7 separate regions of the Homo sapiens genome follow, and all the other regions are linked to region 1. Evidence: promoter capture Hi-C in 16 types of primary human blood cells and fetal thymus (Javierre and others, 2016). All regions are on one chromosome and are shown on one strand. The core of a region is centred on a gene start or on the middle of the fragment in contact, and the rest is flanking DNA. Distances in the headings are between cores, read along the strand shown. Region 1 holds the start of FMN1 (formin 1). Region 2 overlaps AVEN (apoptosis and caspase activation inhibitor). Region 3 overlaps RYR3 (ryanodine receptor 3). Region 4 overlaps ARHGAP11A-SCG5 (ARHGAP11A-SCG5 readthrough). Region 5 overlaps RYR3 (ryanodine receptor 3). Region 6 overlaps ARHGAP11A-SCG5 (ARHGAP11A-SCG5 readthrough). Region 7 overlaps RYR3 (ryanodine receptor 3).

Region 1 (3,875 bases), core at 994-3,493:
TTTGGGAAAATATTTTTCTTCTCCTTTCTCTTTAAAACACCTCCTACTCCCTCCCCCTACCAAGCTTAGAGCAAGTACATATTTCCAGGTTTGATTAAAGGCCAGAGTAGGATTTAGGAATTTCTTCAGAACACTGTTGAAACAATGCTGGAATATGACTTTGGATTAACATCCTTTTACCTTTCTAGGACTCAGCTCACACGACCATGATATTATTTTGTGGGTGGACTTTAAAAGATTTCTACATCAATTAAAACCTAGTTTGACTTAAGCCCTGCAAAATTTTACTTCCTTCCCAACAATAGGAAATCACAGCTCCCTTCTATGAGCAAAGTTGACTTGCAATTGCTCCTAACACATGTCAGAGGTGACACTTCACTCTTAAAGGTGCTTCTGAGGCTGCGGTTTCAAGAAGTCAGTAGTGTGAAAACTGGATCCCTATATGACAATTTTCAGGTAAAAAGAAAAAAGCATCAAGGAATTAAGAGTCGTACTGAGGGCTTCTTATTCTTCTAACTGATGATGATGATTTTTAGACAGGAGATATACGGACCTCGTATTGACTCTACTCCTAACTACGAACATGACCCAAGGACAATTACTTGAACTTTGGGAACCTCAGTTTTCTTATCTATAAGTGGAATTTACAAGGGGAAGATATGAGGATTGAAGGAGATAATGTATATGAAGTGCCTATGGAGCCGGGCACAGCACTTCACAACTGTAATCTCGGCATTTTGGGAGGCTGAGAAGGGAAGATCGCTTGAGCTTAGGAGTTTGAGACCAGCTTGGGCAATATGGTGAAACCCTGTCCCTACAAATAAAAAATTAAAAAATTAGCTGGACATGGTGGTGCCCGCCTGTAGTCCCAGGTACTTTGGAGGCTGAGTTGGGAGGATGGCTTTAGCCCACGGGGTTGAGGCTGCAGTGAGCCAAGATCGCACCACTGCACCCCAGCCTGGGTGACAGAGTGAGACCGTGTGTTAAAAAAACAAATAAATAAAGGGCCTATCAGTGTTTGGCTAATATTGTGATTAAGAATAAATCAGAGTTCCAATAAACTATTATTTCTAGAAAAAAAATAGTGAAAAAAATCACCTTAAAAATACCTTCCAAATTTTTTTCCCATTTACTTATTTGAAAACAGAATCTATTCAGGACAAAATTCTATCTTCAAGTACCAAATGGGTGATACAGTTCGCATTTATCCAAAAGCAGATTAAAGACAATGCCTTTTCTTGCCTACCTACTTGGAAAAGATCTCAGTGTCACTCAAATCACATTCCAAATCTCAACGACATTAAGGCCTCAAATCCTCTTAGGAAAGGTTTGAAGGTAGTTCATTTCAGTAATGATTAGACACTTGGGGACAAAACAGTACCTTGGCATCAAGGTCTGTACTGATTCACCAGCACAGAAATAGCAGTAACAAGATCTTCAACTCTGAGGTGTTCAAATAAGCAGACAAACTCCCTCGTGAGGCCCAGGCCTCTTGACATCCGGACTCAGTCTTTCTTTCTCAGATCGCCAAGGGTCTGGCCCATTTCTCAGCCTAAACCTATTTTGCGTTTAATTCAAACCAGTCAAAGTAACTTAACCGCCAGCAGTTAAAAAGCTACTAGGAGGAAGCGTAGGCAGGAGATGGGAGAGGAAAAGGCTCCTGTCAGGGTTTGGGCTTATGTGTGGATTCTTGAATTCTCCTTCTTTGTTCCTTTTAGCACTTACGATCAAGAACGGCTAGGCTGAGGGGGCAGGGGGGCCAGGCCACTGGAGCGAAACGGCCTCTCCGGATCTGGAGGCGTGGGAACCTCGGGAATAGTGGGGAGTTCCAGACCAGTTCCCTTCCCCCATCTGAACAAGTCCAGAGCGTGCGCCTTGAGAGGCGCTCGGAAACAGGGAAGCTGGGGACACGTAGCGAGAGACTGGTTGTCGCCCTGGCTGTCCGTCTTAGACCTAGCTTAGCGACCACCGCCTTCAATCCCTCAGCCCGGATCAGACGGTGCCAAAAGACAGCACTGCTTCCCAGCCTGGCCCAACGGCTCGGCTGCTGATTGGGCACCGCCGCCTCCCGCCCCGCCTCCCCTGCCACCTCGGGCGCCGCTGCACGTTTCCACTGGTCTTCAGCCCTGCCGATCAGTTTACTGCTCACCTCCCCCAAACAGCTCGTCAGGCCGGCGCGTGCTAGGAAGGCGGGGCCTGTGGCCTGTGGGGCGGAGCCTCGGTGGAGGTCGGCGCAGCTGCCCCTTTGGGCTTTGGCTCTGGACTGGAGCGCAGCATCCTTCGAGGCTGCAGCCGCCACGGCTGTTGCCGTAAGCAATCCTCCTGCCTCAGCCTCCCGAGTAGCTGGGACTCGGGACCAGCCTCCCGAGTATTGGTCAGGTAAAGAGAGTCTTGTCTGTTCTGCTGGCCATCTGCCCGTCTCTTCTTCCCGACCAAAGGCTGCCTGCTCCGCCTTCCCCCGTGGCTTTCAGGGTTCTTGGAATGAGGCATCAAGTCTATTTACCCCGCCAGCTTATCTTCCTCCCCTTCTGTGTCGGTTCCTCCAGCTCCCCCACCAAGCTGCTCCCAAGTACGTTGGTGGGCCCTCCGGGTCATCCCAACGCTCCTCACTACAGAACTCCTGTCGTTGACTCTCAGGTCCCAGCCCCCTTGACCCGCCAGTGCAGTCTCATTCCCAGCTTGGCACAGGAAAGGTGGAGGGCGGGAGGGCGGGAGGGCGGGGGACGGAGAGATGCAGAGCTTTTTTTTTTTTTTTTTTTTTTTTTTGAAGCTGGATGTGTTTAGCGCAGAGGGGGAGCACCACAATGGGATTGCATTGGGAACAGAAGCAGCTTCATGACTATGGTTGGCAATGACTAGAAAGGTATCTGTTGCTGCTTTTTGCTTGTGTTTATAGATGACATTTACCATCACCGTTTTCTTCTTCTTTCATCATCATCATCATCACCATTGCCACTACCACCACCTCCAAGGCCACTACCACCACAGCATCTCTGTTCCTCCATCAGAGCTCTTCAAGTTCTGTAAAGGCAGATTCTCTAAAGGCATGTAAGTGCTGACGGATCCCCCAACCCCCTCCCCCACCACCAAATAACGAACAGTGCTCTTGCCCCCTGAGGCCAGAGCCAAGCCCTCATTTAACTCAAGAACAAGTAGCTGGGAGCAGAGTGTGAGCTGGGAGGATTTTCCTTATCCTCATTTGCAATTGAGATTGCCAAAGAAAACCCTTTATTTTAATCATCCACATTTCTGCTTGCTGTCTCCTGGAGAGTTCCATGTTAGCACTCACACACTCCGAATGGGCTGAATGCAGAGCCTGAACCTGTGATATATATGGGGAGTGGCAGTCACTGAGAGGTGAATGTCCAGACCCAATCCTTTAAGAAGACCAGGTGGAGTAGCAGACAACCTGACTTTCTGCTACAGTAGCTCCAGCTGTACTAAAGCATGTTTACTATTCATGTTTGCATATGGGACATGTGCCATCATCTGCTATGCCCCCTTGCGTGTGTATTGGCAGGGGGGCGGAGGGGCGCATCTAAATTCCTAGGAGAGAGAATTATATTCTGTTCTCTACACCAGGTAGCATCTTATAGGCACACCAATGGGATTCAACAGCCGTTGCTTAGCTGTTTCTAGGGCTTACTGCAAATCTCTTGGATCACAGACTTATTAACCCTTTTTTGGGAGGGAAAACAGTATAGCTGAGAATTGCATACCAGATTAACTGTCGTTGTGGAAGATGTTGCTTCCACAATGAATCAATGAGGTCTCGGGTCTTCTTGATCAGATATCTAAACACTAGTCTCCTTTCTCTCAACTGTGTTACAGTCCAGGAGCAGGACCAATGAATAGTTAGACATATTGCAGGAACA
Region 2 (3,875 bases), core at 37-2,536, 840 kb before region 1:
AGCAATATCATCAGTCTTATTGACACATTCATAGAAGGAAGTTTTTGGAGATTGGAGCAGGGGATGATATATATGGGGGCAAAGCTAACCATATCTCAGCTAAAGGAGTTAGAGGACTGTCTTTTTATGAGTTGTTCTGTTACCTTAACATCTGTAGGACAAGACCATCTTTATATTCTGCATTCTTATGCACACTGATTTAAAAAATTCTTTTTTGCATGAGGCAAAATTTGCTCTTACTGAAGTATTTACAATATCTTGAGGGCATAGCAGATAAGATATCCCTAAAGAGAGTAGTTGTATACAGCAATACAGAGCTGGAAAAAAAAGTATAAAACTTAAATTTAAATGTAACAAACTTAAATCTTGTTAGGATTAAGATAGGTAATAGGCAAAACTTGAATGAGATATAAAAACATTTTTAGGGTCAGTTTACCTCGTGTAAACTGACAGAAACTAAGGTAAATGACAGAAACTAAGACCAACCTAGTGCCCACTATATATCACATTTTGTTCTTATAACTCTATTATATATATATAATATATATGTAATGTAGAATTATGTAATATAATAGTATGTAATTATATATTAACTACAATGTTATATATTATTTATATATCCATATATAGAGAGTAATCTTTATTTTTACAGGTTAACTGACTTGCCTAAGCTTTCACAGCTAGTGGCAGAGCTGGGATTTATATCAAGCTGCCCTTGAGTCAACAGTATTTTATCTCTTACTTTTTCGTGAACCAGTTACCACTTTATTGAGAACAAAGTAGATATTCCTTAGCTGCAGGGATCGTGCTTTAAGAGTAATTGTAGTAATGGTACATTTGGTGTTAACTATGGTGTCTGGCGCACAGGACTTTACTAATAAGTGTCTTTAAGTTGAATTGAGTGAGTGAAGGTGCTTCTGTTTTGTTAATCTCTGTTGAATTAAATTGGGTGAAATGATGGTATATATTTTTTTTTTTTTTTTGAGACGGAGTTTTACTCTTGTTGCCCAGGCTGGAGTGCAATGGCATGATCTTGGCTTGCTGCAACCTCCGCCTCCCGGGTTCAAGTGATTCTCCTGCCTCAGCCTCCCAAGTAGCTGGGATTACAGGCATGAGCCACCTTGCCCGGCTAATTTTGTATTTTTAATAGAGATGGGGTTTCACCATGTTGGTCAGGCTGGTCTCGAACTCCTGACCTCAGGTGATCCACCCGCCTCGGCCTCCCAAGGTGCTGGGATATGGATTACAGGTGTGACCCACTGCGCCTGGTCATGATGGTATATCATTAAAAGAAAGAATAATACAAGACTTTAAAAAATTTAAGATAGTATTGTAACACATTCTGTTAAAATTTTAGGCTTTTTCTTTTGTCGAGTTGGTCTTATCCCTTCATCATCATGTTTTCAGCCAAAGCTGGAGGGAGGGATGTTGGGCAGATTGTTCCTTAATTTTGGTTTGGATTGGTCATCTCTAAGTTCCTTCCATTTCTCAGATTCTGAAGTACTGTTTGTATTTAGTCTTGCTAGGACACCATTTTTGGTGCTTAACCATTACATGAGACAAGATTGATTGACTTTCCTGAAGCCTTCTTGTTCTCATATCCCATGGTGCATTTGTGCCCCAAGGAGAGAGTAACCGAAATGATCAAAGGAAAAAAAAATCATAATAGACTCCTAGCCATGTAAAGACCAGTTGTCCACCTTCAGAAACCAATTTTGTGTACACCTTTGCTTTCTATTTTGGACCACTGCATACAAATGGAAAACAAAATCAATCTAACCAACTTCTACATAGCTATGTAATACTCCAGGGTAACTTAGTTGAGTACTAAGTTGAGTACATCTCTTAGTCTCTTGCTCTTAAATCATTCCTTCTGTAAATGGTCTGAGCTCTAAGCTTACTGATTATGGGTGAGCATAATTATCTTCACGGAATACTCACTAGAAGCATTATTGTACTAGATACAATCATTAACTTTAAAAAAAAAACACAAAACTGGCTGGGTGTGGTGGCTCGCGCTTGTAATCCCAGCACTTTGGGAGGCTGAGGTGGGTGGGTCACTTGAGTCTGGGAGTTCGAGACCAGACTGGGCAACATAACGAGACCCCCTCTCTATAAAAAAAATACAAAACTGCCGAGCATGGCGGGGTGCATCTGTAGTCCCTGCTACAAGGGAGGCTGAAGCAGCCGGATTGTTTTGAGCCCCGGAGGTGGAGGCTGCAGTGAGCTGTGATCCTGCCACTGCACTCCAGCCTGGGCAATAGAGTGAGACTCTGTCTCAAATAACTAACTTACTAACTAAATGAATAAATAATCCCCCTATCACTGCCCCCAATACTAGGATTGTTTAGTATTTATCTTTGTGATGGGCTGTTAGCAGAGAGGAAGACAAGGCCAGCTGGTAGTCTTTGGAATTTTTTTTCTTTTTTCCTTCCTCTAGTAATAACAGTAATTCACATTTGTCGAGTACTTAATATAAGATGAGACAGCTGAGGCACCGTTAAATAACTCACAGTTAGGAGAGGTGAAATAACTTTTTAATATCACTCAACCAGAAAATTGCTGAGCCTGGATTCCACCCCAGCATTTTCACTCCAGAGCCTGTTCTTTCGACTGCTGCTCTAAACTGCTCCTGGAATGACTTTGAGATTTGAAAAAGGGGTGTGTGGAGGACTGTTGAGTGATTCTTTCACATGCCTGATTATTTTTTTAACTGATATGTTAGTATGGTTATAAGGTTTTAAGGTAACATTGGTACCATCTTCAGTTATTGTGGGTGTTACCAGACCTTTGCTTTCTTGCTCCATGTTTATATTGCAGCTTTTCATATTCCTTTTAAAATGATTTATATTCAATAAAAGATGAGACAGCTGTTTATAGTTGTACTAAAAAGTAGAATCTGGAGGCATTTAATTCTGATCAAACTTTTGCTTTGTAAACAAAGCCTGAGTAGTAATTAATACCCGATGGCGTTGACATTTTCATTTCACTGGGTAAAAAGGAAATCTCTAATTTTCTATTCAAGTTTAGTGTGAACCTGGAGGGAAGAAATGGTGTCAGATCAGTTACAGGCAGGTGTCTAAGGACTTGCTCCTTCATTGTTGCTCAGAGTAGCCACCAGCCGCTTGTCAGCCAGCTAGAGACTGAGAGCCTGTTAAAAGCTCAAACTGAAATGACAGCCTCTAGACTTTATTTTCCTTTTTTTCCAGAAAGCCTGAAGCAAATTTGGTTAGAAACTGAATGTGCTTAAGTGTCCCAACAGAAGATTGCTTTAAGATTAGTTCTTGGTAATCCATGAAATTGACCTCTCCTCCTGCTGCAAACCATTGCACACACACTGTAATTATTTTGGCATCCTTATCCTTGTTAACATATTCTGTTTTTAAGTTGCTTTTCTCACTGACCACTATTTCACTTACATATTTTCAATATCAACACAGACAACTGAACTTTTTTGCTTGTATTCTGCCTAAAAAAATTTTGGGAAACCATGTACAATGTACTTTAAAGTTTATATCTAACATTTTTATCAATGGATCAGAGAATTTCAAAATATAAAATTTCCAACATATTGTATATATTGACTTTTTAAATAAAAACACAATTTTTATAAATTGATTTTTTCTTTTCCTTTTTTTTTTTTTTTAAAAAAGAAACTGGGTCTCACTTTGTTGCTCACGCTGGAGTGCAGTAGTGTGAGCAAAGCTCACTGCTGCCTTCAACTGCTGTACTCAAGGGATCCTCCCATCTCAGCCTCCTGAGTAGGTGGGAGTACAGGCGTGAACCACCATACCCAACTAATATTTTTATATTTTGTAGACATGGTCTCACTGTCTTGCCCAGGCTGGTCTCAAACTCCTGGGCTCAAGCAGTCC
Region 3 (3,875 bases), core at 1,376-3,875, 560 kb before region 1:
TAGGAAGAATCAATATTGAGAAAATGGCCATACTGCCCAAAGTCATTTATAGATTCAATGCTATTCCCATCAAGCTACCATTGTCTTTCTTCACAGAATTAGAAACAACTACTTTAAATTTCATATGGAACAAAAAAAGAGCCCGCATAGCCAAGACAATCCTAAGCAAAAAGAACAAAGCTGGAGCCATCACGCTACCTGACTTCAAACTATACTACAAGGCTACAGTAACAAAAACAGCATGGTACTGGTACCAAAACAGAGATATAGACCGATGGAATAGAACAGAGACCTCAGAAATAACGCCGCATATCTACAACTATCTGATCTTTGACAAACCTGACAAAAACAAGCAATGGGGAAAGGATTCCCTATTTAATAAATGGTGCTGGGAAAACTGGCTAGCCCTACGCAGAAAGCTGAAACTGGATCCCTTCTCTACACCTTATACAAAAACTAACTCAAGATGGATTAAAGACTTAAACATAAGACCAAAACCATAAAAGCCCTAGAAGAAAACCTAGGCAATATCATTCAGGACATAGGAATGGGCAAAGACTTCATGACTAAAACACCAAAATCAATGGCAACAAAAGCCAAAATTGACAAATGGGGTCTAATTAAACTAAAGAGCTTCTGCATAGCAAAAGAAACTACCATCAGAGTGAACAGGCAACCTACAGAATTGGAGAAAATTTCTGCAATCTATCTGTCTGACAAAGGGCTAATATCCAGAATCTACAAGGAACTTAAATTTACAAGAAAAAAAAAAAAACCTCATCAAAAACTGGGTGAAGGCTTTGAACAGACACTTTTCAAAAGAAGACATTTATGCAGCCAACTGGCATACGAAAAAAAGCTCATCATCACTGGTCATTAGAGAAATGCAAATCGAAACCACAATGAGATACCATCTCATGCCAGTTAGAATGGCGATCATTAAAAAGTCAGGAAACAACAGATGCTGGAGAGGATGTGGAGATATAGGAATACTTTTACACTGTTGGTGGGAGCGTAAATTAGTTCAACCATTGTGGAAGACAGTGTGGCAATTTCTCAAGGATCTAGAACTAGAAATACCATTTAACCCAGCAATCCCATTACTGGGTATATACCCAAAGGATTATAAATTATTCTACTATAAAGACACATGCACACGTATGTTTATTGCAGCACTGTTCACAATAGCAAAGACTTGGAACCAACCCAAATGCCCATTAATGATAGACTGGATTAAGAAAATGTGGCACATATACACCATGGAATACTATGCAGCCATAAAAAAGGATGAGTTCATGTCCTTTGCAGGGACATAGATAATGCTGGAAACCATCATTCTCAGCAAATTAACACAAGAACTGAAAACCAAACAGAAAACCAAAAGCAAACATGTTCTCACTCGTAAGTGGGAGTTGAACAATGAGAACACATGGACACAGGGCGGGGAACATCACACCCCAGGGCCTGTGGGGGTTGTGGGGGTAGGGGAGGGATAGCATTAGGAGAAATACCAAATGTAGATGACAGGTTAATGGGTGCAGCAAACCACCATGGCACGTGTATACCTATGTAACAAACCTGCACGTTCTGCACATGTACTCCAGAACTTAAATAATAATAAAAAAATATCTAGGGTACTGCATTTACCCTGTTATCATGTGCTGCAAATTATCACCACTCTTTAAAGAAGCCCAAATTCCAAAGCTTTGAGGTTGTATTATGGATGTCATTTATAACTCCAATAAAGAGAATATACAAAGAAAGGGCCTTAGCCCATAGCACAAGGTTTGTGAATGAATGCATGTTTATATATTTTAAGTTACAATGAAATGTTTAAGGTATGTAGGTATAATTTGTAATAATTCTTTGTTGTCACTGATCTTTAAAAATTAATACCTAACATTTCTGCTTATATCAAAAAAAGAGGGCTTCATGTTCTAAAATAAAAATGTTCTCATTTTAAAAGACTCAATTGTTCTCCTTACTTGGATGGGTTTTGTAGGCACGTAATTAAATATCTAGGGAGGCACAGCCCTGTCCCACTAGCATCACATGGAAGGTGACTTACCTGGAAACTATGATGCCATTCACTTGGAGGAACTTAAACAGGTCCTGTGCCTTCTCCCGGTCCTTGAACTTTTCCTTGGCAGTCAAGGTGTCATATGGTACCAGAAGAGGGTGGCTGCCACCACCTGGGGTCAGTAAGGTGAGAGATGACATTTGGCTCTTCCTTTGCACTTCTGGGAGACCATAGCTGCCCCGGTTCAGCTTCTTTAGGGGATGCTGTGAACCTCACTCACCTTTGCTCTCCAGCTCCAGCTTCTTCTTCTTGGCCCAGATATTGTGATAGTTCTCAGCCACGACCTCCACCATTCCCTGTGTCCCACCAAGAAGAGCCAAGTCAAAAAGAAAGAAAGCAGGCAAGCTGGCTTCATAGCTGCTAGGTCATTTCAGGCAGCCTCGGGAAAAGCACACCACTGAACACTAACAGCAGACGGCCAAGGGCTTCCCATCATTAATTAGTGTGTGCTTATGTACCTCATTAGTTTCCTATCCTCCCATACACATAGAAAACAATTTCTAACTCTGTCCTTCCCTTGTAACTTATTATTCTGGCAGTTTGATGCATTTATGAGAAACATCCATTTCCACTTGAACCCGCATGCTGGCAGCACATCATTTTTCACAGCAGCTTGGTATTGTACTCCTGACCTCAGACGGGGAGTTGGGAGTGCGGGCCAAGAAAAGTCTAGAACCCCCGAAAGCCTATAGCTTAACAAACTAAAAATAATCACGTCTTAAAGGAAAGTGCTGTAAATAAGATTTCTCTAGTAGAATCCATCTTTGTAAGGCTTGTAAAACAGTGACTTAGAATGAAGGATGTACTTTGGAAAGAAACTTTCTCGAAGGTCCAAGGGGCTGGTCTGATGGACTTCCAGAGGGTGAGTGCTCCAGGCTAGGGCAGGCCACAGCCACCAGTGTGTACAGGAGGGGAGCAACGGGAGGAAGCAGCTTAGGGCTTTCAGTTTCAACCCCTTGGTCTTACATTCCTATATCCTGCAATGATTGCCTGCCTGCACCATCACAGGGAGCTCCAGCAAACCCACTGTGGGACGTGTGGGCTGTCCTTATGTTTTGGGGGCCTTACAATGACCAGCAAGCACCTCCATTGAGGTGCTAAATTTCACAGATTTTGTCCTAGCTGTCTTATTTATTTTGGTTTTTGATACAGTATAGTCAGCCTTCCTTAACCATGCGTTCTGCATCTGTGGATTCAACCAATTGTAGCTTGAAAATATTTGGAAAAAAATGTGTCTGTACTGAACATGTACAGATTTTTTTCTTGTCATTATTCTCTAAGCAATACAGCATAACAACTATTTATATAGAATTCACATTGTGTTAGGAATTATAAATAATCTAGAGATAATTTAAAGTATATGGGGGGATGTGTGTAGGTTATAGGTAAAACTATGCCATTTTATATCAGGGACTTGAGCGTTCGTGGGTTTTGGTATCTGTGGGAAGTCCTAGGGTAAAGCTTTCATGGATGCTGAGGAATGACTCTAGTGCGCTGGTGGTGCTTCCTACTGAGTCAGCATCCATCATGAAGTCCTTAGAAGAAGCGCAAAGCCTCCCCTTGGAGGATTGGTTCACTCTGCAGAGACTTTCCCTGTGGCCTCTGCACAAGGTGACCGTCTTCAGTTTTGAATTTTAGTGGTGATATGTTCTAGGCATTCTTTCCCTTTTTTCCCCCTTTAACTCTTTGGAAGGTAATGCGTCCTGCACTTGAAAGCAAGTCATGCTGGACCTGGGGCACTGACCTGGAGCTCTCTGGAGAGCACAACGTTTGAGAGGTCGAGGGGAGCAGGACT
Region 4 (3,875 bases), core at 1,376-3,875, 550 kb after region 1:
CAACCGTGGGCTTGGGAGAAGATGGTTACTGCTGAAATATATGGTGCACTGAAGCATATCTGAACTGTATTGCTAACTGATGAGTAATCAAAAATAAGACTGGGGCGCCGGGCGTGGTGGCTCACGCCTGTAATCCCAGCACTTTGGGAGGCCGAGATGGGCGGATCACGAGGTCAGGAGATCGAGACCATCCTGGCTAACATGGTGAAACCCCGTCTCTACTAAAAATACGAAAAAAAAATTAGCCAGGTGTGGTGGCGGGCACCTGTAGTCCCAGCTACTCGCGAGGCTGAGGCAGGAGAATGGCATGAACCTGGGAGGGCAGAGCTTGCAGTGAGCTGAGATCCCGCCACTGCACTCCAGCCTGGGCGAAAGAGCAAGACTCCGTCTCAAAAAATAAATAAATAAATAAGATTGGGGTAAGCCATTAAAGACTGAAAACATGTTGTTGATAATCCACAAAGTGAGAGGAGGAAGGCCTGCAATTCAGTTACTAATGGCACCCACTGATTGCATGTAAGAGTGGGCTGGAAACCCCATTTTATTTTATTTTTATTTTTCAAACACCAACTCGAACCAGACAAGCCCATTTTATTTGGGCCGATTTTATTTGAGAGAACTAGGCTTAGAAAGTTGCCAGGATTACACATAGCTAGAAAATAGTACGGCTACGGGTTAACCCGAGTTCTCTGCCATAAACATACACACTCTTTTTTTTCATGTAATGCCAAGTAGGTCCCTGTTTGTCTTTGTGTTTTTATTTGCTTTGGACTAAGAATTTACACATTTGAAAGATGCTCCTTACCAAGCTGTTTTTAAGGCGCCCACGGAGAAGTTAAACATAACCCCCAATCCTCTCTGGATGTTTTGGCAAATGCTTCTACCCCAGCGACCACTTAAAGCTATTAACGACCAGGAGGCTGGCTACCAGGGTTCAGGAATCTTCCAAAATAAACTTCTAGTCTAGTTGGCCCTCTGCTGGTTTAGTCCCAGGACTGCAAAAAGTCCTTCTAGCTCCTTGGTAGGCGCTGTACAAAGGGCACAAACCTTGCACCATGGTGATCACAGTCATAGTCAATTCTAGATAACAGACATTTTTGCTCACCACATTATCACTAAGCTCATGGCAAGAACCTCTAGGCAGAGATTTTTAAAAACAGAATAGAAATGGAATATTTTCCTTGAACTAAAAGGCAGAAAGTCTTGACAGATCCAGATGTAAAACAGTATTTACATACTTATTGCCATTAGGTATATTTATTTCCCCCTGATATTATACATTAATTCCTCAAATATTTACTGAATGCTTACTATGTGCCTGGAATATAATGCAGTTAATAAGCAGATATAGCCTCATGGAGCTTACATTCCAGTGGAGAGATAAACAATAAGCAAGAAAACAAACAATGATTATAAATGACAAAAAATGCTATGGAGCTTTAAAAAAAAAGGCTGGACATGGCGGCTCACGCCTGTAATCCCAGCACTTTGGGAGGCCAAGGCGGGAGGATCACGAGGTCAGGAGGCTAACACGGTGAAACCCCGTCTCTACTAAAAACACAAAAAATTAGCCGGGCGTGGTGGCGGGCGCCTGTAGTCCCAGCTACTGGGGAGGCTGAGGCAGGAGAATGGCGAGAACCCGGGAGGCGGAGCTTGCAGTGAGCCGAGATCGCACCATTGCACTCCAGCCTGGGGGACAGAGTGAGACTCTGTTTTTTTTTTAAAAAAAAAAAAGGAGACTGCAACAGAGAATGTAGGGGGGTGCTACTCAGACAGGGCAGTCAGGCAGCCCTCTCTGAGTGGGTGACTTTGAAACTCGCTACACAAGGAATGGGAGGTTGATAGCCTCCCATTGTTGATCCCATCCAATGTGTTGATAGCCTTGAGGTGGGAAGAGGCCGGTGTGACTCAGGGCCAGAATGCGTGGAACAAAGTAGGGAGTACGATTGACTGGAGCTGTGGATCCTCGTAGGTCATGGCAAGAAGGGTTATTTTTATTCAGGGTACGATGGGAAGCCACCAATGGAATTGTAACTACGGAGATGACACTAATATGGTTTAAACTTTTCAAGTTTAACTCCTGAAAAAAGTTTAACTCCTGTTCTTCCTGTGAAGAACAATCGAAAAGGGATCAAGAATAGAAGCAGGAAGATGAGTTAGGAGGCGATTTCAAAACTCCATGCCAGACATGATGGTATCTTGGACCAGGGTGTTTGGAGTAGAGCTAGAGAGAAGCAGACAGGAAATTGCACATGGATTTTAGAGATAAAAATGAAATAAATTACTTAAAATTGAGGCATGAAGTGTGATGGAGAAAATCAAGGGTTACTGTAGGTATTTAGTTTGCATATATGGCTAAGCAGGGGCACTACTCATTTAGACAGAAAAGACTGATATAAACAGGCTGGGGAAGGTGGTGGTTTGAGAAATCAGGATCGAAACCTGGCAATTTAGCAATTAGTGTAAGCCTATGGATATGCAAGAAAGAAATGTGGGCTGAAATACAAACACCGGAGTCACCAGCCAAGAAATGGATTGAGAGTCAAGAGAATGAATGAGATCAAGTAGATAGAGAATTGAGGGAAATAAGAGAAGTGGACCCAGCACTGAGCCCTGGAGAACTTAACTTTTAAAGGCCGCCAGAGAAACCTGTAAACGAAACTAACAAATGGGTAAAGAAAAAAAGGAAAAAAGGAAAGCCCAATACTTATTTGTTTATTTAAGGACTACATTTCCTCGCCCTGCTACTTTGCTGTTCACGTTTATTTCCTCAGTACCTAAAACAGTGCCTGGCACTCAATAAATACTAGTAGGTTTAATGAATGAGCGGTGAGAACAGTGGGCTACAATGGACCAGGAGAGAATGAGAGGTGAAGAAGTACAATTGGCATGTGAGGAAAGGCTGTGAAAGGCAGCTGTGAAAGGTTGCTGTGAAAGGCAGCAGAAAATTGGAACAGTAACTAGAAGGGATATGGAATCAAAGAAGATATGTTTTTTTTAATGGGATATATGATACCTCACTGACCTAACATTAATTTATACTGATACTATATTCCTATACTAAAAGGCCAATTTATAATTCTATATTTGAGAGCAAATATACACATTTGTTAAGATCCATTGATCATACAATTAATTTATTTAAGTAGACAAGATAGATATTTGTCTTCTATGTACCATGTGTTGGGCAGTGAACAACTCTGCCTGCAAGGAACTTAACATCCAGTAATTATCTAAAGTGATGATGATGATGATTTGTTTAGAAATTATTTCATCGTAGCACAGTTATCCATGCTAAAACTTTATTTTTGCTTCTGTGGACTGGAACATTACCTGCTTACAAGTAAGTGAATTTAAATCCTACCCCTAAGCTAAACAGAAGGTTATAGGAGTTAAGTAACTTGCCCAAGGTCATATTAGTAATAAATGATGAAGCTGGCATTCAAATTCGGGTGTCTCTGACAATGGTTTGTGCTCATAAGCACCATGTTAAGTGTATTTGAAATTCACACCAGAATACAGTATTACTATAAAATATGATAATATATTATGTATATTCTTTCTGTAACAATTAAAAATAAACTTTCCCAACTTGGTTCTTCACAATAAAATCCTAAAATCAATGTTGGAAGGGTATGGAAGATACTCCATGTGTCTGTCAGAGGGAATTAGCATCAGGGAGTGTGAGCAAAGATAATGCAAATAAATGGATGAGGTGAAACAATAACTAACTCACATGAATAAATGATCAGACCACCCAACAAATTCAATGCCAAGGTCCCAGACTGGGAAAAACCCAGGCTTTTTATTTTGTTGTTTTTGCCCCAAGTATCTTTGGACTATTTTCTTTGTTAGTTTTCATCCTAGCTATAGTA
Region 5 (3,875 bases), core at 599-3,098, 540 kb before region 1:
CTCTCTCTGGAGTGCCCTACAGCAGTGATTCCTAATCTGGACTACATATTGGAATCACTTGGGAAGCTTCAAAAGCCAGAATCTTGGGTCCCATCCCTAACAGTTTTGACTTTTTGGGCTCGGATGTGGCCTGGGCACTGGGATATTTATTTCGTAACTCATCAGGCATTTCTGATATGCAGGTGAGAAGGAAAAACACTGGCTGAAAAATAGCAGATCATAGTCTTGGCCTGTGCTGCTAAGACCTGTTGAAAGGGTCGTCTTCCTTGGATTCTACCAGACTTGACTTAGATTCCTGAAGACCCAAGGCTCTTGGGGTGACTTTACCTTTTGTCCTCAGCTGGCTCTGATGCCCATCTGCAGTCATAAAAATTATTGCCTTTAATTCCCCACTGTGACTGGAGGTTTTTTCTTTCATTTGTTGCTGGTCTTGGGAGGCCTAGAGGTAGGTCGCTTTTTTTTTTTTTTTGAGATGGAGTCTTGCTCTGTCGCCCAGGCTGGAGTGCAGTGGCATGATCTCGGCTCACTGCAAGCTCCACGTCCCAGGTTCACGCCATTCTCCTGCCTCAGCCTCCCGAGTAGCTGGGACTACAGGCGTCTGCCACCATACCCGGCTATTTTTTTTTTTTTTGTATTTTTAGTAGAGATGGGGTTTCACCGTGTTAGCCAGGATGGTCTCGATCTCCTGACCTCGTGATCTGCCCACCTCGGCCTCCCAAAGTGCTGGGATGACAGGCGTGAGCCACCGTGCCCAGCCGGTAGGTTGCTTTTATTCACACTCAGAGTCTGGCTTCTATGTAAGATATGCTCATGTAGAGGACAGACACATCTGCTTCTGGCTCTATCTTGAGAATGAAGAGAATGAAGACAGCCCTTAATCTGAACAGTTTAGGCCTGAAATAGTCTTCTGGTCCATCAACCGTAATGGGTAAAGCCTGAGCTGTGCCCTCTCCCTTCCCCCAAAGGGAAAGATGAGCCTCAAGGAAGAGCCTGTGGCAAATAGGGGAGCCGAGCACATCCTATGAGATGTCTGGGGGAGGGCTGGTGTATGACAATGGCCTGGAAGCTTCCTTAGACTAGACCACCAGTTTTTAGATTACATAGGAAAATGCAGTTGACCTGGATGCATACACAGAAGTAACAACATAGGATATGTACTTACTTGCAAATGGCAAGCAAACATTCTTCTATAGTGTCCCTTTGTGCTTTGGTGAGGGAACGTCCCTTGGATAGCCTGTATATTGTCTGCAGTGTGGAATCAATCAGAGAGGTGCAGTGTTCTGTTCCGGCAAAGAGAGGGGCACATCTTGTGAGGAGCGGGAGCACAGCAGAACATATATACCTATTTAGTGCAAGCGCAGCCTCTGTGGTGCTTAGGGAAACCTAGAGAAAGAAGATTGGGACACAGGTTAATTGCCCTGAGGAACAGAGCAAAGCTGGCTCTGCACAGAGTTCCCATGTAGCAAGCTGTGGGAGCTTATATATGTCCACGTTGCATAGCAAGGCAGTGAACAACTTTCTACCTTATCGGCAGTTCTATTTTTCTTTTTGCATTTTCAATGAAAAAAAATCAAGTTAAAAGAAAGAACAAAAAAAAAACACACAAAAAAATCATAACAAAGGCTAGCTGGCTCTAAGTCTTCCCAAATGATCCTATAAATATCTGTTCCCTTCAAAAGAATTTTGAACTCATTAAAATCAGCTGATGGCCAGTCTAACCCAACATTTTGATGCTTGCAAAGTCTAGTTGCCAGGATACTACATTACTATTCTGGTTTTCGCTCTCTTTTCTCACCTACCAGGGACTCACACACTGTAATTTTACAACTGTAAGATTAGTGAATGGTTATAGGCCAAGCAGTTTCTCAAATTCACCAGTTTTGTGAAAGCGAAAGTGGAACTCTGACTCCTTTCAGTTAATTGGTGAGCACTTCGAGCAATTCACAATCAATACTGACATTAGAGTAGACCCCACTAAAGGGAACCTGACTCTGCATGGGCAACGTGGAAAAGGAACAGAAACTTGGGACCTTCTGTACAACTCTAACATAGTTCTTGCTTACAATGCTCTTTGATGTACATTTAGACGGATGAATGGAATACAAGGAAAACCCATTTAGTGACACTAAGTATAGCCAAAGCATGCTTTACCACCATCTTTGAAAACTATAGAACTTTCGAAAGAAACCTTGAGATCCACAGAGATGAAATATTGCCATTTCCTGTGATTCCTGCAGTCATTCTATCTGTAACACACTTTATATAACTTATGATTTGAAAAACCATTTTCTTTGAACTATATACATGTCTCATTGTTCCTATAAATTATCTAAATTATCAAGTTTGTCTCCTAGAAACTTCAGTAATCATGCTGGGAGAAACAGCTAATCTTTCACATTTATCACTTTAATATACAGACTTAAAACGAGAAAGGACAGAGCTTTGATTTCAGTAGATTATAAGTTTTCAAAAGAGAATGCATGAATGTCTATGTGTTAATGAACTGAATATAACACCTTTTTGTTGTAGATGGTGTTTGGACAAACATGTGATTGAACACCAGATACTAGAATAGCATTTGCTGTTTATTTGATTTATAAAAACATTAAATTATTTGATCAGGAAGCTTGGGGAGATCCCATGAGTTAAGAAAATTATTTTTAAAATCAAATAATTTATAGAAAAGTTCAAAACAACAGCAGTGGCAGAAGCATTGTTTTAATTATTCACAAATAATTATTCATAATTATTCATTATGAATAAAAAATTATTCATTGTTTTATTATATCAAAACATTGGGTTAGACTGGGTTATTCAGTATTAGGGATCGTATACCCTAATACTGTCATATATACCATTTATCATCACCATACCACACATGGGAATGCAGCTCCCACTCAGGTTGGGGCTCATATTTCTTTCCATTTCTGGATAACCCATGCAGGTGGAATCCATCCAAGTTAAGGTATTTGCCGCTGACAACCCATCACAGAGCTCAGATTTCTGTCTCTGTTGGACACCAGGTGGAGCCTTTGAGAAATGTTATAACTAAAAACAACACTAAACTGGAAAGATGTTTTTTAGACTTACGCAGATCTAGTTTGTCTTTTCTCCTTGGACCTATGACTCCTGGTGTACCTTTTTCTGCTTAGTTCTGACTTGTGGCATCTCGTATCTGAGCTTTGTAACTCTAGGGGCCTCCTCTCTTGATGTTTGTTGATGGTGAACTACCTTATCTATCTCACCCTTGATTTCCAAACTTATATTTGCCTTTGTCCTCTTGTATTGACCTTCGTCAGGCCCCTGGCTTCAGACCTATCCATCCTGGTGGTCAGTACATGAAACTAAGAAGCGAGAGTGTGAAGAGTAATGTCAGCCTATAATGTTGCCAGCCAGCCTTTTTCAAAGGCAATAGAGACACGGTCTCACCAGAGGGTGATTTTGTCCCCGAGGGGACATCTGGTGATATCTGAAATTGATTTTGGCAGGGATTCGCGGTGAACTGGGGTGCTACTGATATCTAGTGGGTAGAGGCCAGGGATGTTGCTACACGTTCTACAATGCACAGGATAGCCCCTTAACATTTACTGTCAAGGTTAAAAAAACTCTGCAATTGAGGGAGTTGGATTTGGGGTCAAATTGACCTATATCTAAGTCTCTGGCCCAATAAATTAAGATCTTCCATTTCATGATACCTCTATTTTCTCACCCATTAAAGTAAGCTATTAAAATGTAATTGGTGAGTAAAGAGAAAATATTTGCTTCGAAGTCCAACATTACTAATTTCACAATGATGGGAACAATAATTTTTTGTTATTTTTGCAACTTACTGTATCTAGAGAGGCAGAAGCTCTTAGGTCAGGTAAAAATCCAAC
Region 6 (3,875 bases), core at 682-3,181, 530 kb after region 1:
GTAATTTGCAATAGCACTTTTAGCTCCTTCATGTAACTTTTATTTGCCGTCTGAAATGAAGTCTCAACTTGGCAATTTGTATGAAGGCTAAGCATGTCTTTATACTAAGGTTAAGGCTCATGTTTGTCCTTTAAAAACTTTATTTTATAATTCTTGCTGAAATTATATGGCTTAGCTGAGGGTCAGAGTGGAGCTTAAGTTGAGGTATCAGTTATTATTGAAAAAATAACGGGATATAGAACTGTGGTGGTGGTGGTTGGGATTCGGTGAGGATATGGACACAAAACTGTGAAAAAGTAAAAATATGGACTTGGGCTCTCTAGCATCTGGTTCCATATACAGGCCTACCGCCTCCAATTATCTAAAGCTCCCACTTCATCTTCCTTTCTGAAACTACACTTACTTATGACATCATTTGTCCAGAACCTGAGCCCCACCTCTCTGTTCTCAATGACATAGCAGGTCCTATGTATCATTCCTTTGGGTAAGCTTCTCTACTAACATGATAATGAGTGCTAATTAACATGTAGTACTCTGCTCCTGTAGGATTTGCAACTTAGAGGATTTCTGGGATAATTCTCTTAAAGTAGTGACTTCACCAACAGGAATTCCAGGCCCCCTGGTGTGCCAGCTCAAGGGATAAGCAGAGTATGTCGGGTTCCCAGGTAAGGAAAAGGGGCAATGGCAATGACAATCCTGCAGGCAGAAATAAAGACATTAGGGGCCAAACCAGAGCCAGGTAAATGCATAGGAAGTTTATAATTAGTGACCCAGCATCCAAGGAGATAGCTTCCTACACTTAAGAAACGAGTAAAGGAGATCTGCAGGAGCTTAGGGAAGAGAGAAGCAATGAATGGCTGAGCCAACAGATGACATTAACACCAAGACACCACCGTGAGAGTGGAGGTGACCCTCCGCCCCAGACCCAAAGCTCTCTGATGGTTTCTGTTGAGGGTCACCTTCCAGTCAGCCTGGGCTTCACAGAGGAAGCAGGTCACTGGGGACTATGGTTGAGGAGGTGTGGATAAGGGTTAGCAGGAACTGTGTTGGACCCATTCTGGATGGGATGAGGTGGGAGTGGCAGGGCCTGGCAGCGCTGTGCCCATTCAGAGCCCCTTCCACCAGCTGACCTGGTTCCGCACTGGCCAGGGGAGTGGTCCTAGCACAGATTTTGGGTACACGGCTTGGGAATGTAATTATTCCATCATGTCACTTCCACCCATATGTCTGTAGACTAAAACGAGGAGACTCCATCTGAGTCTGACAAGGCCTTTTGGGCCACGACAAGGAACGTGATTCTCACTTGGCCTTACAAATTCGTACCTGAATTAATTACCATTCCTCTACTTCTTTTTCACTATCCTAAGCTGCTGTAAATCCATAAGTGTTCTTTATAAATGGCTAGAATAAACATTTGTTTTAGACAGTAATCTCATAGAAAATTCTTTTCTGTTTCTGAGTTCCCAGCAGCTACTACTATTTTTTGGCAGCTGGTGGTGGGGTGAGGGTTAATTCTAGCCTCGAGAGGAGAAGGCACGTGGTGTGTACGTTGGGGAGGGGCCCAGACTAAATCCTCTACAACCCTTTGGTAATGCTTTCCTGGCCTGTGGTTTCCCATCTCATACAAATATTCCCAATTTCTCTCTTTTATATCCATGTAACCTCTGCCTGGCAATAGGTATTAAGAATAAAGTGGGTCCGGTGGCTCATGCCTATAATCCCAGAAGTTTGGGAGGCCGAAGCGGGTGGATCACTTGAGGTCAGGAGTTTGAGACCAGCCTGGCCAACATGGTGAAACCCCATCTGTAATAAAAATACAAAAAAGTTATCCAGGCATGCTGGTGTGTGCCTGTAGTCCCAGTTACTCGAAAGGCTGAGGCAGGAGAATCACTTGCACCCAGGAGGCGGAGGCTGCAGTGAGCCGAGACTGTGCCACTGCACTCCAGCCTGGGCGACACAGTGAGACTCTGTCTCAAAAAAAAAAAAAGAATAAAACTACAACAAACCAAACAAAACAGTATTCACTAGTTATTATCAACTTTGTGCCAGACCTGGAGCCAGAACTCAATGTTATGTTAAAAGAGATAGACTCAAAGGCGGCCACAAAGCTGTGTGGACAGTGATGAGCAATTCGTGCCTTAAAGTCCAAAGGAGGTGCCTCCGGCAATACGCTCAGACAGCTGCAGCACTACACACAGACACTGGAAATACACCTCACAGAATTCTTCTGATTCTTAAAAATGGCAAGTCTCTTACCCACACATGGTAAAACGGGTGAAGAAAGCACACATAACTCAAATTCATAAAAACACCAAACTTATCTTTAAAAATGGGCTTCAACCTTCCCATCCACCCACTTCCAACCAAATTTTTAACTAGAACTATTGATGAAAAATAATGTTGGCCTGAGTCAGTTCTAGTCCCCTTTATATATTATTTTAAAATAGTATATAGCAGTGCTGTTCTATAGAAATAGAATATGAACTACATTTGTAATTTTAAATTGTCTAGTCTTCTCACTTCAAAAAGTAAAAAGAAATAGTGAAATTAAATAATTTTTAATCCCAATATATCCAAATTATCATTTCAACATGTAATTGATATAAAGAATTGCCAAAGAGACTTTTTATATTCTTTTTTGCATACTGTCTTCCAAATAGGGTGTGTAGTTTATACTTAGAGTACATCACAACTCCAGCCAGCCATATTTCAGGTGTTCAGTAGCCTCTTGGGCGTGGTGAATACCAAATCGGTCAGAGCAGGTGTATAGAGGAGGCTAGACATGGCGATCAAAAGTGCAGCCTGCAATCCAGATGCTTGAGTTTGAATATTGGCCTCATCACCTTAGCTGTATGACCTCATCTGTAAAACAAGAATACTTAAGTAATACCATCCTTAAGCCGTTGGTATGAGGATAAAATAAAATAGTCCTTGTAAGGCTTTTTGCAAGAATTCTGGCAAATATTGTGCTTAATAAATGTTAGCTAGGGTGGTCACTTTATAATGCATGAGCTCTATACTTAAAAACATATGTGGTCCTGAACAAGTTATCTTACCTCTTTGAATATTAGTTTCCTTCTCTGTAAAACAGGGGTGATAATAATACTTCATTGAGAAGATTAACTGGTACAAACATAGCACTTAATAAATGTTCGTTTCTTTCTCCTTGACTTTAGGTGCCAATGAACAGAGAAATAGCCAAAGGGCTCGCTGAGTGGGAGCAGAGGTAAATGGGCCTGGATAATTGGAAAACTGGATAGTCACGAGGTTAACTATGCCACAGGCAAGAATCCAGATGGTTCCAACCTACCTCAGCCAGTGTGAGAATGCCCAGTAGATGTGTTTCTTTTGTAGTTCCTTTACTAGAAGCTTTATAAGAGCAGGCATGTTCACTGTTTCACAGGCTAATAGAAATAAAGTATGTATGTGCATCTTATGTAACATATCCCTACGTATGTATGCTGAATTCAGTAGGCAGCCATGTTCAGTATTTTAGAGCTGTAGCCATCACTCAACTCCCTTGTGTTGATAAGAAGAAACATTCGGGGAAAAGAAGACCTATTTGTTTATTGTAAGATTCAAAATCTCTAAGGGTAATGGCCTTTATTTCTTTCCTACTCAGAAGTTTGTTTTTCCCTATTTAATAGCTCATACAGGATTTTGAAAAAGGAAAACTTAAAAATTTTAATTAGAACCATATCCTAAATATCCTTCTGCTCTTCTGCATGTTTGTTTATTTTTTCTTAGGATTGATTTGTTCAGAGTTTTGAAATTACCAGGGAAGAGCTTTTGAGGATGTTTGAGATCCATGATTCAAAACAGGGAGGGACACATGAGTGGCAGGTGACATCAGAAGCCACCAGCCATTCCTCAAA
Region 7 (3,875 bases), core at 772-3,271, 520 kb before region 1:
AGTACCAATCACACTGAAGAATGGTTAACATGCCCTTTCTGACTCTAAAAACATGAATACAAGGGCAGAAATAAACCAGATGATTCTTAAGTGTCTACACCTTGTATGCCCTTCAAAGCTAAGATGACACTTTGTACTCTCAACCCTAAAAGATGTATGTCTCCCAGCACAACAGTCTATCCATATGCTCTCCCTTTAGGACTTTGTTAAACTATATCCATTTATTTCAAGATGTTATTCAACACTTGCCTTCTTCCTCATGCATCCCTTGACTAATTCTACCAGATTCCAATAAACACCATCATTTTGGCATGCCAATGTCTCATGTGTCACTATGTAGGTAGGTGTGGTTGATTACAAAGTTTTTAGTAATTATTCCATACATGTTTCTGATCACTCTACTTGGGTTTTCTCTGTTTCCTGCTTTGAGTTGTAGGAAGTGACTTCTGGGCAGGACTTCTAGAGCATCACGTTTCACAGCCCCTCATAGACTCTTCACATGTCACATGATGGATGTCCAAGTTATGGCCACTGATAATAAATCTACCTAGGAAAGCAGATTCAGCAAAGCTAGGAGATATTATGTTCCTTAAACTAAGTTTGTAGTCTGGGGAAGATATCGCTATAACTCTCCAAGGACTCTAAGAAAACACAGAATAACTTTTCCCTTTTTCTTGTGGATTGATAGGAAACCTTTTCCTTCTCAGAGTCTACAATAGGAAGGGATTAATCACAGACACCCAAACACATCTGTGCTTAGCCTGGCTACAGTGCCTGCAACTGCGGGGAAAATAGAAGCTTAACGACTTCATTACTTCCAGAGTTAAACACAACCCAAGGCTTCTCAACAGCTAATAAAAATAAAGTGAAGCAAATTATATGCCTTAAAACATTTTCTTAAAGACAAATATTTAAGAAGATTTACTACAAACATTAAGAAATAATAGTAAATTAATGTTAGAAAGAGTTTTCTAATTCCATTATTTTGATATATTAAAAGCTTTTGATATGGCTTAAAATTTTTAAAATTAGCACCAAACAGTGATTAAATAATACCACCATTTTTGACAAGCTCAAAGGAGAAAATGTTGTTTCTCCTTGTTGATTAGGGAGACAGGAAGACAACAGTGCACAATGGTTCATAAACTGTGGCCTCTGGAGTCAAACTGCTTGATTCAATTTCTGGCTTTACTTTCTACTACCTATGAGACTCTGGGCAAGGTATTTAATCTAAGCTTCAGGGTCTTCATCTACAATATGAAGATAATTGTATCCACTTGCTATGGTCTGAATATTCGTGTCCCCCCCACCCTCCAAAATTCATGTTGAAATCCTAACTGTCCAGGTGACGATATTAGGCAGTAGGGCCTTTGGTAGGTAATTAAGTCATAAGGGCAGAGCCCTCATGAATGGGATTTGTGCCACTACAAAAGAGGCCCCAGAGAGCTGCCTTGCCTCTTCCACCATGTGAGAACAAAGTGAGAAGGCACCATCTATGAACCAGGAAACCTCACCAGACACTGAATCTGCCAGCACCTTGATCCTGGACTTCCCAGCTTTCAGAAGTGTAAGAGATAAATTTACGTTGTTTATAAGCTACCTTGTCTATGGTATTTTGTTATGGCAGCCTGAACAGACTAAGATGCTTCCCTCATTGGATTGTCGTATAATTAAAGTTAATATATGTAAAAGTGTTTTGAACAGTGCCTGGCACATGGTAAATGCTCAATAAGTGTTAGCTGTTATCCTCACCACAACCCTCACCACCCCCATCATCACTCACCATCATTCACCACACTCACCCTTATAACCCCCCTATATGACCATGCACCACCCAACCATCATATCCCATCATCACCATCATCATCAGCCACCACCATCACCATGTCTACCTTCACTAACCACCACCCACCTCAGTCACCCTACAACTCACTATAACCACTGACCAACTATCATATTCCACTATCACTAGCATCATCACCATTCATCACCCACTATCACAATTCCCACTACCACTCACCATTACCCACCATGAACACCCCATCACCCACCATAATCATATACCACCACCCACCATCATCTACCATCACCCACCATGAATACTTCCATCATCTGCCACGATTCCTTATATCACTTTTATCTTACATTGCTGAGCAGAGTTCACAAAGGTATTCAGAAAGTCCTTTTGAATCACCTTTTAGACATAAGGACTTATAAAGGGCTTTGAGATTCCAAAGAAATCTGTTTATTACAGTTTTCCCATTTCAAATGCCCTACCACTCTCGTAAAGATCATGAACAACAACTATCATAACTACAAGTTTATAAGGTTTGTGGCACTGGGCTGATCTAAGTTTTCCATGGATTATTTCATTTAAGCCTCACAACTCTGTGAGGCATACATTATTATCATCTCTGTTTTACACATAAAAAAGCACTGAGGTTAGGTATTTTGACTAACTTGCTTCAATTCACACAACTAGTAAATGATAGAGCCAAATTTGAACCCAAGTTACTCCATTCTCTACTCCAAACTCTTCTGTAACATTCTGTTGTGATTGAGCCACTATTCCTCCTCCTAAGTATTCAGAAATATTCTCATTTTTCTTTTTCATACTCTCCACATTTTTCTTTTTCATGCCTTCACCTGTGGCAACCTACTGTGAAGCATTTGAGCTACCAATGGACTGCAAATCTACTTAGTTCTAATCTGTTGATTGATTTCTATCCTACAAATTCAATTAGGGGTATCTCTATATGGGTACTGTACACAGAAAAATCAATATAATGTGACCCAAGCCAAGCTTATTACCTTCCATCTCAAACCATTTTGCTTCTTCTGACATCCTTATTTCTTTCTCTCTACCCTCAAAAATCTTTAAGCTTCAATGTGACCTCTGTTCCTTTTCTCTCAACATACCTAGGCTCAGCCATCATCATCACCATTCAGTCCTTGATACAGTTTGTATATTTGTCCCTGCCCAAATCTCATGTTGAATTGTAATCCCCAATGCTGGAGGTGGGGCCTGGTGGGAGGTGTTTGAATCATGGGGACAGATCCCTCATGGCTTGAGGCTGTCTTCACAACAGTGAGTTCTTAAGAGATCTGGCCATTTAAAAGTGTGTGGCACCTCCCCCTTGCCTTATGCCTGCTTTCACCCTATGATGTGCCTATTCCCCCTTCACCTTCTGCCACAATTGAAAGCTCCCAGAGGCTTCACCAGAAGCCAAGCAGATGCTAGCACCATGCTTCCTGTAAAGCCTGCAGAACCACGAGCCAATTAAACTTCTTTTATTAACAAATCACCCAGTTTCAGGTATTTATTTAGAGTAATGCAAGAATGGACTAATACTGAACATTTGTACCAAAGATTGGGGTATTGCTATAAAGATACCTGAAAATGTGGAAGCAGCTTTGGAACTGGGTAGGTGGCAGAGATTGAAAGTGTTTGTAGGGCTCAGAAGAAGATGATAGAAAGTTTGGAACTTCTTGGAGACCAGTTAAATGGTTGTGACCAAAATGCTGACAGTGAAGTCCAAGCTGCTGAGGTCTCAGGTGGAAATGAGGAACTTATTTGGAATTGGAGCAAAGGTCATGCATATTACACATTAGTAAAGAACTTGGCTGCATTCTGTTCGTGCCTTAGGGATCGATGGAAGTTTGAACTTGAGAGTGATGACCTAGGGTATCCTGGTGGAAGAAACTTCTAAGCAGCAAAGTGTTCAAGAAGTGGCCTGGTAGCCGGGTGCGGTGGCTCATGCCTATAATCCCAGCACTTTGGGAGGCCGAGGCGGGTGGATCACGAAGTCAGGAGATTGAGACCATCCTGGCTAACACGGTGAAACCCCATCTCTACTAAAAATACAAAAAGTTAG

The links. The method cuts DNA at HindIII sites, captures the fragments that hold promoters and counts their contacts. A CHiCAGO score of 5 or more calls a contact.
Region 2: a fragment that was not itself captured here is called in contact with the fragment with the promoter of FMN1 in region 1 in 1 of 17 cell types (naive CD4 T cells); the score reaches 5.2 in naive CD4 T cells.
Region 3: a fragment that was not itself captured here is called in contact with the fragment with the promoter of FMN1 in region 1 in 1 of 17 cell types (endothelial precursors); the score reaches 5.1 in endothelial precursors.
Region 4: a fragment that was not itself captured here is called in contact with the fragment with the promoter of FMN1 in region 1 in 1 of 17 cell types (monocytes); the score reaches 5.2 in monocytes.
Region 5: a fragment that was not itself captured here is called in contact with the fragment with the promoter of FMN1 in region 1 in 4 of 17 cell types (endothelial precursors, erythroblasts, M2 macrophages and 1 more); the score reaches 8.3 in endothelial precursors.
Region 6: a contact is called between a fragment that was not itself captured here and the fragment with the promoter of FMN1 in region 1, in 3 of 17 cell types (monocytes, fetal thymus and M0 macrophages). The highest score is 9.7, in monocytes.
Region 7: a fragment that was not itself captured here is called in contact with the fragment with the promoter of FMN1 in region 1 in 3 of 17 cell types (endothelial precursors, erythroblasts and M2 macrophages); the score reaches 7.6 in endothelial precursors.

The regions. Positions count from the first base shown.
Region 1 is chr15:33,193,082-33,196,956 of GRCh38, reverse strand. It overlaps FMN1 (formin 1), which reads left to right and starts at 2,243. Exons shown (of 21, transcript NM_001277313.2): 1 at 2,243-2,379; 2 at 2,897-3,048. It overlaps LOC105370759 (a long non-coding RNA gene), which reads right to left and starts at 2,046. Exons shown (of 3, transcript XR_932090.3): 1 at 1,382-2,046. RefSeq lists silencers at 1,941-2,150, 1,925-2,264. The HindIII fragment of the contact is 5,074 bases long and covers 67-3,875 here.
Region 2 is chr15:34,034,218-34,038,092 of GRCh38, reverse strand. The region is part of intron 1 of AVEN (apoptosis and caspase activation inhibitor); the gene reads left to right. All of the region lies in intron 1 of CHRM5 (cholinergic receptor muscarinic 5), which reads right to left. Among named protein-coding and RNA genes, the nearest start is that of AVEN, 3.0 kb to the left of the region's middle. The HindIII fragment of the contact is 1,225 bases long and covers 674-1,898 here.
Region 3 is chr15:33,748,480-33,752,354 of GRCh38, reverse strand. It overlaps RYR3 (ryanodine receptor 3), which reads right to left. Exons shown (of 104, transcript NM_001036.6): 55 at 3,825-3,875; 56 at 2,301-2,376; 57 at 2,069-2,192. Among named protein-coding and RNA genes, the nearest start is that of CHRM5, 220 kb to the left of the region's middle. The HindIII fragment of the contact is 1,837 bases long and covers 1,707-3,543 here.
Region 4 is chr15:32,646,631-32,650,505 of GRCh38, reverse strand. The region is part of intron 10 of ARHGAP11A-SCG5 (ARHGAP11A-SCG5 readthrough); the gene reads right to left. The region is part of intron 2 of SCG5 (secretogranin V); the gene reads right to left. Among named protein-coding and RNA genes, the nearest start is that of SCG5, 6.9 kb to the right of the region's middle. The HindIII fragment of the contact is 6,991 bases long and covers 1-3,875 here.
Region 5 is chr15:33,728,982-33,732,856 of GRCh38, reverse strand. It overlaps RYR3 (ryanodine receptor 3), which reads right to left. Exons shown (of 104, transcript NM_001036.6): 47 at 3,831-3,875; 48 at 1,163-1,383. Among named protein-coding and RNA genes, the nearest start is that of CHRM5, 240 kb to the left of the region's middle. The HindIII fragment of the contact is 1,560 bases long and covers 1,069-2,628 here.
Region 6 is chr15:32,665,790-32,669,664 of GRCh38, reverse strand. All of the region lies in intron 10 of ARHGAP11A-SCG5 (ARHGAP11A-SCG5 readthrough), which reads right to left. The region is part of intron 2 of SCG5 (secretogranin V); the gene reads right to left. It overlaps SCG5-AS1 (SCG5 antisense RNA 1), which reads left to right. Exons shown (of 4, transcript NR_135505.1): 2 at 547-665; 3 at 3,177-3,226; 4 at 3,748-3,875. LOC124903458 (a long non-coding RNA gene) reads right to left here. Exons shown (of 2, transcript XR_007064573.1): 2 at 2,545-2,862. Among named protein-coding and RNA genes, the nearest start is that of SCG5-AS1, 5.3 kb to the left of the region's middle. The HindIII fragment of the contact is 2,880 bases long and covers 492-3,371 here.
Region 7 is chr15:33,711,407-33,715,281 of GRCh38, reverse strand. The region is part of intron 43 of RYR3 (ryanodine receptor 3); the gene reads right to left. Among named protein-coding and RNA genes, the nearest start is that of CHRM5, 260 kb to the left of the region's middle. The HindIII fragment of the contact is 1,568 bases long and covers 1,238-2,805 here.